Linked DNA regions of Homo sapiens: region 1 is linked to region 2. Evidence: promoter capture Hi-C in 16 types of primary human blood cells and fetal thymus (Javierre and others, 2016). All regions are on one chromosome and are shown on one strand. Each heading gives the region's core, a stretch centred on a gene start or on the middle of the fragment in contact. The rest is flanking DNA. Distances are from core to core; before and after follow the strand shown. Region 1 overlaps DOCK1 (dedicator of cytokinesis 1). Region 2 holds the start of DOCK1-AS1 (DOCK1 antisense RNA 1).

Region 1 (3,237 bases), core at 552-3,051, 120 kb before region 2:
CTTAACAACAGGGCTGTGTTTCCCTGGAGGCGCTCTGGTGGCTCTGTGGGTGGACCACACTTCCACTCTGGCCACTTGGCCCATGAACGAATCACGAGGGGTAAGAAAATGATAAAACTCCATCTCATTTGGAAACATGAATCACAGCTTATTGTTTGCAAGTACTTGGAATCTGTTAGAAGCATTGTTTGTAAATGAGATACTTCAGTTGTATATTTATTTTGTAAAATTGGGAAAGGAGTAAACAGCTGATCTGGGGTTCCTTCTGCAAAGGCAGGAAATGCTGGTTCCTCCCAATTCATTCCACTGGGGGCTGCCTGTGAAATTTACCAGCCCGCGTTTCCCCCTTGGTTTTGAGTTGGTGGGTCATGTTTACGGGCCTGGCATATTAACAGGCATAAACCTTGACTCAGCTGTCACACTGGCCAGATGATCTTTTCTCTCACAGCCCAGTAGGCAGTTTTATGTCCCGACGTCAATAAAATTATGTTGCCATGGATCCTGTTCCTAAGATTAGGTGAAAAGATGCAGTATGTTCTAGAATCACACGTGAGGACCATGTGCTCACTCACTCACATCTCAACAATGGTGTTGAAGGCAGAATAATGGTCCCCAAAAAGGTCCACGCCCTAATCCCCAGACTCTGTGAATTCAATATGTTACATGGCAAAAGGGACTTGGCAGATGTGATTCAGGTTACTTGGAATTCGTAGATGGGAGATTATTCAGGACCATCCACGTGGGCACAGAGAACTTTGGCTGTCAAAGTTGTGAAACAGGCAGTCAGAAGATCCTATGTTTGGAAGCACAGTTGCTGGCCCTGAGATGTAGGGGCTCACTTGCAAGGACCAGAGAGAGGCCTCAGGGAGCTACGGGAGGCCCCTAGCTAATGATCGGCAGTTACAAAGAATTGGATCCTGCCAACACCCTGAATGAGCTTGGAAACAGATTTCCTCCCCAGGGCCTCCTGCTAAGAGCCCAGCCAGCCAACACCTTGATTTTGAGACCCTGAGCTGCTGGGCGTGTGGCCTGTGGAACTGAGATAATACATTTGTGTGGTTTTAAGCTGGCTGGGTTGTGGGAATTTGTTACGGCAGCAGTGGAAAACTAATACAGATGATGGGAGAGAAGCTTGCAGGGTGAGGCTCTCTTGCACCCTTGAGATCTGTTACTAAGTTCATTGAAGGTAGTGAACCCAAGTGTGCTCTTCACTTTGGCCACTTCCAAGTGCAGCTCTCAAATGGGATGGGGCATTGGCACTGCTCTTACTCATAATGGGACCCTTGAGCAAATTACTCATACTTTCTTAGCCTTGGTTTTCTCATCTGTGAAGTGGAACCAAGCCTGCTTGCTGCCGAGTCGTGAGGACTCGCTGAGATGATGTTGGCAGAGAATTTAGCCCTGCGTTTAAGATATGCCAAGTACTCAACGAAGCGTTGCTTTTGTTAACTTTTTATTTAATAAAGCATAAAGTTTAGAAACATAGTGACAAGTGACTTCTGTGTGCGGTTAACGGGTTGCTGGAAAAATGCCTTTCTTCAAAAGTTGGTTTCTTGATAGTGTGTTTTGCTTCCTAATTGGGGTAGAAGTCACATTTGCTCAGTGTGAGGAGCCTGACTTGCGTGCCTTCACATTAGCTCTAAGCAATGATAATTGCTAGGAATAGTGTGATATCCAAATAAATTTGGGAGCGTGGGAGTTGATGAGAGATCTCTTTTGTTATCTAGAGTAGCAAGCAAGCTGCTACTTTGGGGAAGAAAAATTAGATTTGATCATAAGTAAATAGAAATGCAGGCATTTTCATTCACTGGAATTGCAGCAAAACCAAATCAGGGCATATTATATTTCTACAAACCTGATTTTACTTTGGAAACATAAGAAATTTAAATTTATTTCTATGCCATTGTTTGCCTAGGATACCAGACATCTGATCAGGATTGTCTTAGTGTGTGTCAATAGTTCTGTCTCTTTATCACCTCTGTGGATGCAGGTAGTGAAATGGGGAGGAAGAAATAGGCCACGTGGTGTCCTTTGCTGGGTGTGGCGCTGACGCCCCAGGGCCATCGCTGTAGCAAGCGCACACTTGTACGCTGTTCCCACCCTCCTTCCCTCCCTCCCTTTTCCCTTCTTTCTTTTCTTCCTCTCTGTACTTTGTATTTTCAGATGATTGCATTAAACTTTGTATTTTCAGATAATTATAGCCAAATGCGGGTGTAAAATATAATTCAGGGAGATCATGAGTAGCCATTACTAGTTTCACCTAAGGTTACGTCTTGTAAAGCTGTAGTACAGCATCACGACTGGGATATTGACATCGATAGTCAAGGTACAGAACATTTCCAGCACCACAAGCACCACGCCTACCTCCCTCCACGCCTTTCTCCCCTCAAATCCTGGCCACCCTTTGCCTGTTCTGTGTTTTTATAATATTGTCCTTTAAAGAGTGTTCCGTTAGTGAAATTGCATAGGAGGTAAGCTTTCGGGATTGGCTTTTTTCACTCAGTATCTCTCTCTGGATATTCATCCGGGTGTTGCTTCTTTTCTTTGCTGAGTATCATTTCATGGTCTGGATATGCCCCAGATTAACTGTTCACCTGTCGAAGGACATCTGAGTTTGGCTGTGACAAATACAGCTGCTGTCAACAAGCACATACAGGTTTTAGTGTGAACCTAAGTCTTCATTTTCTGGGATAAATGCCCAGGAGTGCAGAGGCTGAGTCGTCTGGTAGTTGGATGTTTAGCTTTTTAAGAAACTGCCAAACTTTCCTGGAGTAACTGTGCCAGTTCACATTCTCACCAGCAGTGTATATGTGATTGTAGATTTCTCGGAATCCTTGCCATCATTTGTCACCGTCCTTATTGCTTGTGTAGGTGTGTAGTTGTCTGTCATTGTGGTTGGAGTTTGCATTTGCCTTGGTTTCATTTGGGAGCCAGCGTGCAGCTCCCTGTGCTGCTGCGGTACAGGAGAAGGCAGCCCACCCAGGGGGTGCTGGTGGGAGCGCTGTATGAGCGGGTCCACTGAGCTGTGAAATTGTCCAGTGTATTCAGGGAAGGACTTTGATCCAGTTTGAAGAGACATCATGGAGTGGAAGGCTGACCGGGCACATGCACCAGTGTGGAGACCACGGTTAACACCAGGTGGTCGCTTGTCAAGATGCGGTTGTCAAGATGTTCACTTTTCAAACCCTTCAGTGCATCCGGAAGGCCTTCAGGGAGGAAATGAGGAGGCGCCCGAGG
Region 2 (3,166 bases), core at 176-2,675:
TGGCATGCTGTCTTTACACCAAACAAAAAAACCGAGCTGCCAGCCTGTGGAGGTCATTGCTGGGGAGTGGGATCCTGTTCTGTAGCTCTGATATGGTGCCTTTTCATAATGCAGCGTGCTCACATCTCCACGATGGAGTAAACACCGTCTCACCGCCAAGAGCTTGAATATTTGAAAACCAGGCCAGGGGTTGGCTCTGGAATACAGATGTTTGATGTGAGAATTAGGGACAATTTTTGCTTAGAGGCAGCATGTATTAGGTCTTTTTTCTTTGAGTGTAATGTGACAACAGGAAAGCTTTTTTGGCGCAGCTGTGGGCAGGTCACCACAGCTGTGGAAGGAATATAGACCCTTCCAGGTTGGGGCTAAGAAGAAAAACGGCAACTTTTCTTTTTTTGAGACGGAGTCTCATTCTGTCACCCAGACTGGAGTGCAGTGGTGCAATCTCGGCTCACTGCAACCTCCACTTCCTGGGTTCAAGCGATTCTCTTGCCTCAGCTTCCTGAGTAGCTGGGATTACAGGCATGTACCATGATGCCTGGCTAATGTTTTTGGTATTTTTAGTAGAGTTGGGGTTTTATCATGTTGGCCAGGCTGGTCTCGAACTCCTGACCTCAAGTGATCCACCCTCCTCGGCCTCCCAGACTGCTGGGATTACAGGCATGAGCCACCATGCCCGGCCCAAAAACAGCAACGTTTAAAAGTAGAATCTTGGCCGGATGTGGTGGCTCACACTTGTAATCCCAGCACTTTGGGAGGCTGAGGTGGGCAGATCATCTGAGGTCAGGAGTTTGAGGCCAGCCTAACATGGAAAAACCTTCTCTACTAAATACACAAAATTAGCTGGGTGTGGTGGCGCATGCCTGTAATCCCAGCTACTCGAGAGGCTGAGGCAGGAGAATCGCTTGAACGCAGGAGGCGGAGGTTGTGGTGAGCCAAGATCGAGCCATTGCACCACTCTAGCCTGGGCAACAAGAGCGAAACTCTGTATCAAAAAAAAAAAAAGAAAGAAAAAAGAATCTTAACAGTAATGGTCAGAGCATTCAGAAAAAAAAATTCAGCTGTGTCACGGAGTCAGTTGGCTTGGCAGCTGTTACAATATGATACAAAATTTTGCAGAGGCATTTTGTCTTTGGAAAAATCATATAGGGGACTAGGTGTACAGTATTTTCACCACTGCAGTTAGAAATGTTTACAGTTGTACCTGATAGCTCCAGTTGAATAAAGCTGTTACGCTGGATGATATTGATAACAGTGCTTAAACTTCTTTTTCAATTCTTGAAGGTGGCCATTCCCATCGAGGACGTTAACCGCAGTCACCTTCGGTTTACCTTCCGCCACAGGTCATCACAGGACTGTGAGTAGTCAAGCACTTTCTTCCCCCAAGTATTTTTAAGGGAGAACTGGGGGAAAGCGCGAGAGGCCACTCTCAGTTGTTCTGGAACTCGCTATCATAACACAATAAGGCTCATTTCCCACCGGAACCTATTCCTTGGAAACATTCTTCTCTCTTTTCCTTGAGCAGATCTCAGGAGGAGATCTTAATTTCCTTCTCCAGTTCCTCCTACCCAGTGTTGCTGGTCCCCTTCTTTCTTTTGCTTTCCAGTCTTCCGTGTTGACTTGCCATCCATCCATGCCATCCATCAGAAAAGTTACTGAGCTGTAACAAATACCTCTCAAACATGGGCTCTTAAGGTGCCTGTCTTAGAATTGGAAATCTTGAACCCTTTTTGTCTTCCTTGGTGGCCCTTGCTGTCTGGAGCTCAGGGATGGCTTTTCTCATAGACATTTTTGTGAATACTGACCATGGTGCCAAGACTTTAGGAGGAAAGAACTGCTATTTGAATCACTCTCCTTCAAAAAGAATTTATTATTGATGACTGAAATTTGTTCCATCACATTTTGTTAAATTAATTGTCAACTAAAGCTGTAGCCCTGTGCTAGACAGTAAGATATCACAGAAGGAAAACATGATTCCCGTCTTTCAGGGTGTGTGTCTCTTTGGCATTGGGAACTGAGACATATTCATATTTGGGACAATAAATGACAAAGAGAGTTGGCTACAGGCTTGTGTGCCGCAGGCAGTTAAAGGAAAAGAGTGGTGTGGAGGGCAGACCGCCCTTTGTCACTGATGACCCCGTGGGGGTCACACCGTGCAGTGGGCAGTTTCAGGTTCTGTGTGCTCTGGATGGAGCTTAAGCATGAGCCTCTTCTGTATCTTCATTTGAGGATAAGAATACCTTTCTGGCTGGTGCCGTGGCTCACACCTGTAATCCCAGAACTTTGGGAAGCCAAGGTGGAAGATTGCTTGAGCCCCGGAGTTTGAGACCAGCTTGGGCAACACAGTGAGACCCGATCTTTACTAAAACAGTTATCCTGGTGTGATGGTATACCTGTAGTCTCAGCTGCTCAGGAGGCTGAGGCAGGAGGATTGCTTGAACCCGGGAGGCAGAGGTTGCAGTGAGCTGTGATTGCACCACTGCACTTCAGCCTGGGGAACAGAGTGAGACCCTGTCTCAAAAACAAAAAGCAAAACAAAAAAAACATTAAACCTTCCTCCTAGGGTATTCTTGAAGGTCAGGCAAGGTGGAGGCTGGCCACCTTCTGGCACGCTGCCTGGTATGGATAGGGGCTCCATTGTAGTTGCTGCTGCTGGAATAATGTGTTCATTCACCTGACTATTTCTGGGGCCTGGCCTGCCCTGGGCCCTCCATGTGGGGTGGGTGTGCCTGGACAGGGGGGCTGCAGGAGAGCAGCCTGGAGAGCAAATGCACGAGCACGGTCATGATGTTATGGTGTGCAGATCATCGAGAAGCTTGGGCCTGCTGTTGTTCAGGGGAGTTGGAGAGGCCTGGTGTGTGGTCTGCAGAGCTGGGGTGCCGGCCCATGACTGTCAATGGCAGATGTGTGTGTGGTGGGGCCCGGCCTGGGATGTGGCTGACTGGAGGGGTTTCAAGCAGCATGGAGTGCCTGGTGGTGGGTGGTGCATGGCGGGGGAGTGCGGGGGGTGGGTGGTGGCTGGCAGCTGCCGAAAGCATCATTGCATTCCTGTCCTGTCCCAACAGTGCATGCAGGCCAGGGGTTCAGTTACAAGGGCATCAGGTTTATGTCTAACGGGAGAAGCAGGGGCAGGAAGGCCGCCAGCTTGGAAGGCAGTTCCCTGCCA

What was found. The method cuts DNA at HindIII sites, captures the fragments that hold promoters and counts their contacts. A CHiCAGO score of 5 or more calls a contact.
Region 1: a fragment that was not itself captured here is called in contact with the fragment with the promoter of DOCK1-AS1 in region 2 in 1 of 17 cell types (endothelial precursors); the score reaches 5.1 in endothelial precursors.

Annotation. Positions count from the first base shown.
Region 1 is chr10:126,908,363-126,911,599 of GRCh38, forward strand. The region is part of intron 1 of DOCK1 (dedicator of cytokinesis 1); the gene reads left to right. It overlaps LOC124900289 (a long non-coding RNA gene), which reads left to right. Exons shown (of 2, transcript XR_007062336.1): 1 at 1-3,237. Among named protein-coding and RNA genes, the nearest start is that of DOCK1, 4.6 kb to the left of the region's middle. RefSeq lists enhancers at 2,527-3,027, 3,028-3,237. The HindIII fragment of the contact is 1,345 bases long and covers 1,130-2,474 here.
Region 2 is chr10:127,025,068-127,028,233 of GRCh38, forward strand. It overlaps DOCK1-AS1 (DOCK1 antisense RNA 1), which reads right to left and starts at 1,426. Exons shown (of 5, transcript NR_188215.1): 1 at 1,205-1,426. DOCK1 (dedicator of cytokinesis 1) reads left to right here. Exons shown (of 52, transcript NM_001290223.2): 16 at 1,285-1,357. The HindIII fragment of the contact is 2,518 bases long and covers 296-2,813 here.